Regions from separate parts of the Homo sapiens genome. Here all the other regions are linked to region 2. The links are contacts of gene promoters, found by promoter capture Hi-C in blood cells and fetal thymus (Javierre and others, 2016). All regions are on one chromosome and are shown on one strand. The core of a region is centred on a gene start or on the middle of the fragment in contact, and the rest is flanking DNA. Distances in the headings are between cores, read along the strand shown.

Region 1 (3,448 bases), core at 427-2,926, 66 kb after region 2:
TTTTTTTTTTGAGAAGCAGTTTCACTCTGTTGCCTAGGCTGGAGTGCAGTGGTGCACCCTTAGCTCACCGCAACCTCCGCCTCCTGGGTTCAAGCGATTCTTGTGCCTCAGCCTCCTTAGTAGCTGGGATTATAGGCACGCACCAACACACCCAGCTTATTTTTGTATTATTAATAGAGAAGGGGTTTCACCATGTTGGCCAGGCTGGTCTCGAACTCCTGACCTCAAGTGATCTGCCGCCTCAGCCTCCCAAAGTGCTGGGATTACAGACGTGAGCCACCACGCTCAATTGGTATACTTTGAATTAAATACTGTAAATAAATTTTGGAAAGACTTCTATACTCTTCTCCTCCCTGCAACATTAATATTATTTGTTTGCTTTTGTTTATGAAAGCATGAAAATGCTGTATTCTATTTCTTATAGACATATACGTTTCTGTTTTTGATAGATTACTAAGTCAAGTTTGGTAGAATTGGTTTAATGATTCTACCTTCAGAGAATAAATCTGAGCTGATAGAATTTGAGACTGACAACGCCGTACAGTGATAATACTGGAAAGTAACAGAAGAGATCCCAGATGGTTTCCAAAGCTGGGGTCAGGACCAGCCTAATAAAGCCTGATAGAGTTATGTTCTGTAAGTGAAACGTTACAGTTTAATGCTCAGTGTGGGACAGTGGGGAAACCAGAGCCCTTTTTTTGTTCCTATTGATTTGACTTTTCAAATTTGACTGCATTTTTCTCTTCTCTAACAGAGAGATAACGCCTACCCTGTAAGCTTGATAGATTTGTCATGAGTTGATAGATTTGTCATGAAGATTCCATGAGATAAAGGGTGTGTCCCTGGCTTTGAAAAACTGGCCAAGTTCCAGGTGGAAGAAGAGGAGGAGGGGAGGGAGGGGGCAGAGCAGGAGATGGTGATAGTAACACAGCTGCGCCAGGCATTTCAGTGAGTTCCTAATGCAGCTTCTAGGGTGCATTTGAAATGAGGCACTTCCAGACAGACGTCTTGGGTTCTTCTCACTGAGTCAGAGGTGAAAGATGAGAAGTTGTCATGTTAAACTAATAAGTGACATTAGCAAGGCCAGAAGTTGAAAATAATTCTGCCAGTAGCTTGGGAGCTTCCCCTGCAAAGATTTCCAAGGTCTGCGAGCCAAGAGAGAGCCTTCATTTCTGACAGGAACAGTGGAAAGATCTAAATTAGAAATGGAATAGCCTTTAGAAACCTTCAGGCCCTAAGGGGCTTCACTGAGCATAATTGTCTTTGAATGGAAATATAAGTTTATAATTTGTTAGAAGCAGTTTTTCAAAAGTAAAATAGAGGCATGTAGAGGTTTTTATTGCCTTTCCACCTCCATCATTGAAAGCCTATTTTTGTAGATGTATTATCTTTAAGGTTCGTGTGCCTGGGTAGTGATTGATTTGAGAACACAGTGGGAAAATTTATTGCGCAAATGATATATTTTTGTGACTTTGTTTGGTTTTGATTCCTGGAAAATTTTACCGACTATATAGGTCTGGATATAGTTTTATAGCATTGGTCTTGAATACTCAAAATGAGTCACAAACCTATGGAAATTATAATTTACACAGATTTGGGGATCTGTGTAGTAGGCACAGGTGGTAGAGAACTGGGTGGATGCAGGTAGAGAACTGAAGAACTGCAGGTTTTTATGTGGTTTCTGATATAGCCCAGTTACTTCATTTAGGATAAACTATTGGCTATTTTGTAATTTATAAACTACCTTTTAAAGCAGGGCTCACTTAATGCTGAACATTAAAAATTTTTTTCTCTTTGTTACTGCAAGTGTAATTTCTTCTGAACAATTTTCCCTGTTATTTAAAAAATAATTTAGTTAGTAAGCTAAAAGTGTTAGCATTCATTGAAGTTAGGAATTGGCTCTTCCCTGTAACTTAGGTGAATTTTTTTTTTTTAGACAGGGTCTCGCTCTGTTGCTCAGGCTAGAGTGCAGTGGTACAATCATGGCTCACTGCAGCCTTGACCTCCCAGGCTCAAGTGATCCTCCAGTTTCATTCCCCTCCCACTGAGTAGCTGGGACTACTGGCATGTACCACTGCAACTGGCTAATTTTTAAATAATTTTTACTTTTTTGTAGAGACAGGGTCTCACTTTGTTGCCCAGGCTGGGCTCGGATTCCTGGGCTCAAGTGATCCTCAGGCCTTGGCCTCCCAAAGTGCTGAGATTACAGGTGTGAACCACTGTGCCTGGCCCCTGAAATTTTGAATAAAGGGAGAGAAAATGGTGGCAATGAGATAACAAGAACTTTTGTGTGTTTTCTAACTACTCAAGTAGATGAAACTCAATTAGATAGTTATATCTGAATAAATAGTCAAACATTTATTATGTGCCAGCAATGATACTATTGATAGCTGTATTAGTAATGCTTTTGGCTGAAAGTAACAGTACCTGATTGATACTGACTAGGTGAAAACTGATGATCTTGTATAACAGAAGCATGTAGGTCAGTTGTTCTGGTTTTGCTGCACTAGCTTTACAAAGCCATAGAGACGTAGAGCCTTTCTGCCTCTCTGCTCTACCATTTTGGGTTTTGTCCTTAAGCTTGTCACCTCTTGATCCCATTATCCCTGCTTCAAACGACATTATCTTTTACCGCAAGGAAGGAAGCAGAAGTTAAAGGCTGAGTGGAAAAATGAACAGTTGTTCTCTTATCAGGGAAGAAGATTTTTTTCAGTCCTTTCTAGTACCCCCAGTAAACTTCTCTACACCTGCTAGGGAAACAGAGAAAACAGATATTTAGAGAGTAAGAATCTGATTTTCATGATTGTCTGAGATGAATCATAATTCAGAATTACCCTTCCTAAATAAAAGGGGTGTTTTGTTTGTATGAATGAAAGAGAGGTGGTCGTTGGGTGGAAGAGCCACACTGTGTACGACAGTGGCACGTGCAGCACTTTTAGAGTAGAAAGAGCAAGCTCTGGCCATTAGGGACCCCACTACCTGCTGGTGGAGAGAAGGCCAATAACCAAATGACTATAGTGATCTGTGGAATAACTACAGTGTCAAGCAGGTGACAAATACAACACTATTATAGGAAGATTTGGAGAGAGGCGTGGAGGTTCAAGAAAATCTTGGAGAAGATATTATTTGTGATATTCACTGACATTTTCAATAGGTGTAGATGGACAGGCAGTGGCCTTTAGACCTCTGCAAAGACTGAAGCCCTGGGTTTGTATAGCAGGTGTCCTAGGAGAGTAATCAGTGGGCATATCGGGAAGTATTTGCAGCCCACACATGCCATGGTGGTTGCTGCAGTGCTGCATTAGACAGCAGTAGATGGATGAAAATATAACTTAGTGTCCTCTTCAGACTTGTCTGTTCTGTGCCAGTTGCAGTGCTGGATGCTCCTGCAAATAGACTTATCTTCTCCAGTAGACATGCTGATGTTTTTCCCCTTCATGTTCAACTC
Region 2 (3,062 bases), core at 434-2,933:
CCCCCAAAATTCATATGCTGAAATCCTAGTTCCCAATGTGATAGTATTCAGAGACAGAGTCTTTGGGAGGTAATTAGCTAATGAGGGTAGAACCTTCATGAATGGGATTAGTGCCCTTATAAGAAGATAGGGCACTAATCTGTGTTTCCTCTTTCTGTGCTCTCTGCCATGTGAGGATACACAAGAAAACAGCTGTTTTCAAACCAGGAAGAGGATCCTTGCCAGACACTGGATCTGCCTGCATGTTGATCTTGGACTTCCCTGCCTCCAGAACCGTGAGGAATAAATTCTGCTGTTTAAGCCACCTAGTCTAAGCAGCCTGGACTAAGATAAGAACTGACCTTTGTGTTTAGCAGCATGAAGATCACAGGTGACCTTGGGCAGTTTCAATGCAGCAGAGGAGACAAATGTCCAAATGGAAGTTCAAAAGAAAATGAGGGGAGAGAAATTGGAAGCACCAGTATAGGCCATTCTTCAGTTTCACTTTCAAGAGATAGAGTGGAAAGAGGGGAGGGAAGAGTAAAAGAAACTCCCTCTCTCTGTGTGTGTGTGTGTGTGTGTGTGTGCGGTTATATGCCCACTGGAAAGGTTTAGTATAGCCTACTGGCAGCACCAGGCAGAAAATGAATGTGAGAAAAATGAACAAAAATGCCCCAGAACCATGTATACATGGGCCATGGAATGAATTCACACATGGCTCCTGTATCAATGGGGAAATGCATTGCGGGAGGGAAGGTGCCTGGGTTAGGCCTCACAGGCCTAATGCCTTAAAGGTTTTAGATTCAAAAGGCAGAAATAATGAGCCTGCCGAGTAGCACAGTGGAGGTTCTCATGATGTGCCAGGTCAAAATGTGGTCTAGCAGCCTTTTCAGAGAGGTTAGTTGAGAGGGGTGGTTTTACAGAACGCTGCAGTTGCTATCATCATCATCATCATCATCATCATCGTCATCAAGTAGCAATTAATAATCAAATAGCAATTAAGTGCCTAATTTTTTGTACCACCTCATAAATCAATATAGGGGGGCTTGTTCCCTGGGGGAGCTACTTTGATGAGAAGCAGCAGTATAAAAGACCGGAAAGTCAAAGATTGGGGAAAGGCAGGCGTGGGGCAGAGGCAGAAGGCTCTTGCCAAACCATCCTGCCTCAGTTCCTGATTTTTCACCCTGCCTCTCCAAGCGCGGGAGTGGAGGATCCTTTCCCTCCCACTTCCTCCTTTGCTCTTTACCCCTCCCCCTCCCCCCCCCTTTTTTTTTTTTTGCTGTCCTCCTGGAGCAGGGCTGGTTCTGAAGCTTGGCGGCAGCCCCTACCTGCTGACCCACCGCCTCCGGGCGCACGGGAAGAGGACTGAGAGCCCTGAAACCCCAGCGGGGCAGGAGCCAGCATTCTGAGCATGTGCGAGCCAGCCAGGGGGCTAGGGCGGATTTGGGGGGTCGACTTTAGGTCGTCGCCCTAAGCGCAAAGCGAAAGAGCGGTGAGAGCAGGGGCGGGCGACACTCCCCGGAGCGGTGCCCCTGCGCCCAGGGCGCAGCGACTGCGCCCTGCCCTGCGGGTGTGGGCGAGTTGGCCGCGTGTGTGCCTCGCTGTTTGACGCGAAGACGAGCCAATCAGGGCGGGCGGCCCGAGCTGCCATGTGACGGGCAAGGCGGCCCCTTTCCCCAGCGCGGCCAGAGGGAGGAGAGAACCGGGGCTCGCCGCGAGCCTTCGAGAGCAGCGGCCGCGGAGGAGGCGGCGGCGGCGGGCGGGAGCAGCGGCGGCGGCGGCACAGGCTCGGGGCCAGCCGGGCGCGCATCCCCGGGCGCCCTGCGCGGTGGAGAGCTTGGCGGGCTGCGGGTGCCGCAGGACAGGAGTGGACAAAGCAAGATGGCAGGGATCTTAGCCTGGTTCTGGAACGAGAGGTTTTGGCTCCCGCACAATGTCACCTGGGCGGACCTGAAGAACACGGAGGAGGCCACCTTCCCGCAGGCTGAGGACCTCTATCTCGCTTTTCCCCTGGCCTTCTGTATCTTCATGGTGCGGCTCATCTTCGAGAGGTAAGAAGGGCTGAAGCCCCTCCTCCCCTCCCCCTGCGCACACACACGCGCGCACACACTCGCGCGCTCTCTGGCGCACGCCCCCGCGCCCCCAACGCTCGCGTTCACGCCTCCCAACCTTTGTGTTCGGGGAGGGGTTGCTGACCCCCCTGCCCCGCTGGCTTTCTGGGAGCCAGAAAGGGTCTGGCTTGCCACGGATTTCCTCCCGGGCGCCGGGGAGGAGCCGCGGAGCGTTAGGGTCGCCCCCTGCCCTCCTCCTGGGCCCTGCTCTCCTCCCGGCAAGGGCAGGCGAACAAAGGTGAGCGGTGGTCGGGCTCAGGACCCGCCGCATTCCGCGGGGCTCGCCCCTCTCCGCCGGCGCGCCACGCAAGGCTGCCAGGCAGGGCTTCCCGCCGGGGCCCGCGCCACCCACCTGACAGCCAGGAACGTTCCGGACGCGCGGCCCGGAGGGAGGAGGAACCGCGCACACTTCAATCTTTATGCTCCGGCACACGGATTGTAGGGGTTGTGCTTCAAAAGAATTCGCCAGGGACTTCCTGGCTTCTGGTCGCTGTTTGGTTTTTATCCGTGAAACTATCAGGCCCACAGTCCTGGCAAATAGGGGATAATAGCATTTCAGGTTATTAGCGGTTTCTTTAAAAGAGGATGTGACAGGACGGGTCCACATCCTGCAAAATGGTGATATTAAACTGATAACCCTGTCCTGTGAATAATCATAAACTTCTTTTTTGGTACTCGAAGGCACTTAAAATTTTGAGGAATTGTCATGCAATTGTATAGTTCCTCGGTTTGGTTGGATATCTCCATTGTGTCACATACAAACTTGTGTTATTCTCATGGAATTCGTTTTCGTCGCGAAACTAGATTGTGCCTGCCATGCATTCTCTGGGTGCTACTGAAAGAAAACCAGGACAGCAGCACACTTTTTTTTTCGTAACAGAAAATATTATCTTCCCCTTTCTTGTACCCTCCCCTTCCTCTGCCCAATTCATCAGTAAAGGCTGAATTTCTTAGATCACAAAGTAGAGTTTA
Region 3 (3,533 bases), core at 708-3,207, 120 kb after region 2:
ATACATTAGTACCATGCCTTTTATCGGGGCTTTGTTTCTATTAAATCCCCAAATGTTTGAAGGTATAATTATTTGGCAGATTTGATATGATGATTTTTGTTGGAGGAGTTAAAGCTCATAGTTTTATTTTCTTCTTCTTTTCCTTCTTTAAAGAAAAGCTTCTTGTTGAGAACATGATTTTCTGGCTTTCTGACTTTTAAAGTGGCATGTAATTTGAAACTGTGGTTCCTTACTTGTCTAAACAGTAGGGTGAGGTCCTTGTGGTAGAACTGGGAGGTTTCTATCTTAGGCCAAGAGGACAGCTCTGACTGCCAGCTCTACCTGCCTGTCTCTAGCACTAACCAGCCTCCTCAGCCTCGATTTCTTGAAACTTAACCTGAGTCAAAATAGTACCTTGAATTTAAAATGGGGCCATTAGAATTGTTCAAAACACATAGAGCACTGGTGCCTTATGTATTAGTCCGTTTTCACACTGCTATAAAGATATTACTGGAGACTAGGTAATTTATAAAGAAAGGAGGTTTAATTGACTCACAGTTTCTCTTGGCTTGGGAGGCCTTAGGAAACTTACAATCATGGCAGAAGGCAAGGGAAAGCAAGGCAGGCACGTCTTACATGGTGGAAGGGGAGAGTGAGAGTGAGGAAGTGCCACTTCCTCACTCTCTTTAAAACTATCAGCTTTCGTGAGAACTCACTCACTATCAGCAAACTGCCCCCATGAACCAATTGGCTCCCACCAGATCCCTCCCTTAACATGTGGGGATTATATTCTGAGATGAGATTTGGGTGGGGACACAGAGCCAAACCATATCACCTTGTAAGCACATAATAAATGTTAGCTATTATACTAGTGATAGCACTATAGTAGCACTGTGATTGCCTCTGAAGCAAAGAAGGGCCTTCTCTGTGTGGACTCCCTTCTTGAACAAGTTTTTATTCTTTTCCTAAGAATTTTATGAGAATTTATAACAATCCATTTCTCTCTGGCTTGTGCTGTCAGGTGGGGCTGCCATGCTTCTTCTCACCCCTTGGCCTTTGCTCAAGTTCTGCCCACCTGCCCCAACCTGGGATGCCCTTCCCCTACTGTGACAAATACCTGCCTCTCCATTAAGACTCAGTTCACCTTCATTTAGGAAACCGTGGATATTTACTGGGTGACGACTCTATGCCAGGAATGGTACTTAGTGTCTAATGAAGTTGCCTTAGAGAGGAGCACAGAGCGTTTATTTGTGGTAACAGGAAGGGAGTCCAGGCAGGGACATAGGGAGGTAGAGTTAGGTAAGTCTCTCCTGGTTGTCTCCATCATCCCAGTGAAATAGGAGACAGGGACATCAGAGGAGAGCAAATCATAAGCTGTGTGGCCTCCCCTGCTCCATGAAGGACGCCTCCTACCCCCATTCTCTTTTTCCCAAGCAGAGTTGATGGTCCCCTCATTTGTGTGCCCCTTTAATAGTAATGGCAACAGCCCAATGCTCTTGCTTAACATTTCTTTTTTATCTGCAGACTGTAAATTCCTTCATGACAAAGAGCCAGTCTTATCCTTTTTTGAGAACCCAGCACCTAGGACTGATTTGCAATGTGTTTGTTTCATTTACTGCCCAAATACATTTTGAGTGCCTACTTTATGCCCAGCGGTCTTGTAAGTGCTTGGGATATGGTTTACATTTCACTGGGGAAGGACACAGTAGACAAATTCTCCCCATTATCTTCCCTTCAATTTCTTTTATATTTCTATTTCTTTCCAGATACAGTCCAATCAAGATTTGTACATTAAAGTTCTCTTAATTTTTTTGTTTTGAAACAATTTTTTTATTTTGAAAACTTATAGAGAAGTTTGAAGAATAGTATAAAGAAATCCTGTATAAACCCACCCAGATTCACCACTGTTAACATGATGCCATACTTGCTCTGATGTTTTTTCTGTTCCTTCTGTACAAGTGTGCACACACACCTATACACACATACATACATACATACACATATGTTTTTCATGAACTGTTTGAGTGGAGGCCTCAGATTACACTTTATTTTGAAGATAAATAGAATCTTCTGGGAGATTGGTTGTGTGGTATGAGAGAAAGTGAGAATTCAAGAATGACGCTTGGGTTTTAGCCTAGGCAGTTAGACAGAAGGAGTTGCCCTTGAGTGGGTTGAGGAAGCGTGAGGGAGGAGCAAACCTGGGGAGAAGTCCAGGATTTTGATTTTGGTCATGTGAATCTGGAGGTATCTATTAGATATCTATGCAGAGGAGTGCTGTAGGCAGCTGGATAGGTGAATGCACAGTTCAGGGAGGAGGTGTGGACTTGGCAGTTGTTGGTGAATAGATAGTGTGTAAAGCCTCGAGACGGTGCGAGATCTCAAAGAGAGTGAGGGTAAGTAGAGGAAACATCTGAGGATGGAGGCTTGAGACAGCCTCGTATGAGAGGTTATGGAATTGAGGAGGAGCTGATAAAGGAGGCTGTGAAGGAGATAGGTGAGTGAGGAGGCCAAGAGAAGAAGACATTCATCGTTGGCTGTGTCACTACTCACAGTCCATGTAGCAACATGCAAGTCATTCGGTGTCTGCCAAGAGCAGTTTGGGTGGAAGGTCTTAAGACAAAATGGAGGAGAGAAGTTGCAATGTGGGAACTCTCGAGAGGTTTGTTATAAAAGAGAGGTCCAGAAAAAGAGAATAGTCATTAGAGGAGGAATTTGGGGTTAAGGATTTTTTTTTAACAAGGGAAAAATGATGGCTTGTTTGTATACTGATGGGAATGATCCAGCAAAGAGGGAAAAATGGATGATGCCTGAGAGGAGAGAAATGGCAAGAGCCGAGCCTTGCCCAGGCAGGAGGCGCTGGGGTGTGGAGCACAGTCAGGAGTTGCCTTAGAGAGGAGCACGGAGCATTCATTTGTGGTAACAGGAGGGAAGTCCAGACAGGGGCATAGGGAGGCAGAGTCAGGTAAGTCTTTCCTGGTTGTCTCCATCATCCCAGTGAAATAGGAAATGGGCATCTGAGGAGAGTGAAGAGGGAGGAGGAAGTATTAGCATTTTGAGGAGTGGGGAGAAAGTGTGAAACAATTTTCTGGAGGTGTATTGATTAATTTCTTTGTTTGGCCTATCTGCATGTGGGTGGCAGATAGTGAGGGCGAGGGACACAAGTACATTGTCGTTTCTGGGGAATAAGAGGTGTAGGTGCCAGTAGGGTGCGGTCACTCACAAGTCACTATGTCCCAGTCCAAAAGCCCAGGAGTGGGGTGGAAACTTCACAGTGTGATGAATCACTATAGGAATGGGAAACTAGGTTGAAAGCAGCGTTGGGAGGTTTGGAGCCCTCGCTCAGATATTTGGTGCAGATTAGCTGCAGGCATTTGTCAGACCAGGCTGTGGAACTGATATCAACCAGTAAACTTTTTTTTTTTTTTTAATCATTTCCACATTGTTTACAGGAAGAGAGAGGGCAAGTCTCTTATGTCCCTCAGTCAGTCTGTAGCTTTTGAAGATACTGAGGATGTAAAACCAACCTATGGAGCCTACTTTGCATATGACCACCT

What was found. The method cuts DNA at HindIII sites, captures the fragments that hold promoters and counts their contacts. A CHiCAGO score of 5 or more calls a contact.
Region 1: a fragment that was not itself captured here is called in contact with the fragment with the promoter of CERS6 in region 2 in 1 of 17 cell types (non-activated CD4 T cells); the score reaches 5.1 in non-activated CD4 T cells.
Region 3: a fragment that was not itself captured here is called in contact with the fragment with the promoter of CERS6 in region 2 in 12 of 17 cell types (fetal thymus, non-activated CD4 T cells, activated CD4 T cells and 9 more); the score reaches 11.4 in fetal thymus.

Annotation. Positions count from the first base shown.
Region 1 is chr2:168,520,618-168,524,065 of GRCh38, forward strand. All of the region lies in intron 1 of CERS6 (ceramide synthase 6), which reads left to right. Among named protein-coding and RNA genes, the nearest start is that of MIR4774, 61 kb to the right of the region's middle. The HindIII fragment of the contact is 1,803 bases long and covers 776-2,578 here.
Region 2 is chr2:168,454,589-168,457,650 of GRCh38, forward strand. It overlaps CERS6 (ceramide synthase 6), which reads left to right and starts at 1,684. Exons shown (of 10, transcript NM_203463.3): 1 at 1,684-2,030. The coding sequence starts at 1,861. It overlaps LOC102724081 (a long non-coding RNA gene), which reads right to left. Exons shown (of 4, transcript XR_002959433.2): 1 at 2,443-3,062. RefSeq lists silencers at 1,276-1,495, 1,526-1,615, 1,736-1,865, 2,316-2,375. The HindIII fragment of the contact is 1,842 bases long and covers 1,288-3,062 here.
Region 3 is chr2:168,574,783-168,578,315 of GRCh38, forward strand. All of the region lies in intron 3 of CERS6 (ceramide synthase 6), which reads left to right. Among named protein-coding and RNA genes, the nearest start is that of MIR4774, 6.4 kb to the right of the region's middle. The HindIII fragment of the contact is 3,602 bases long and covers 157-3,533 here.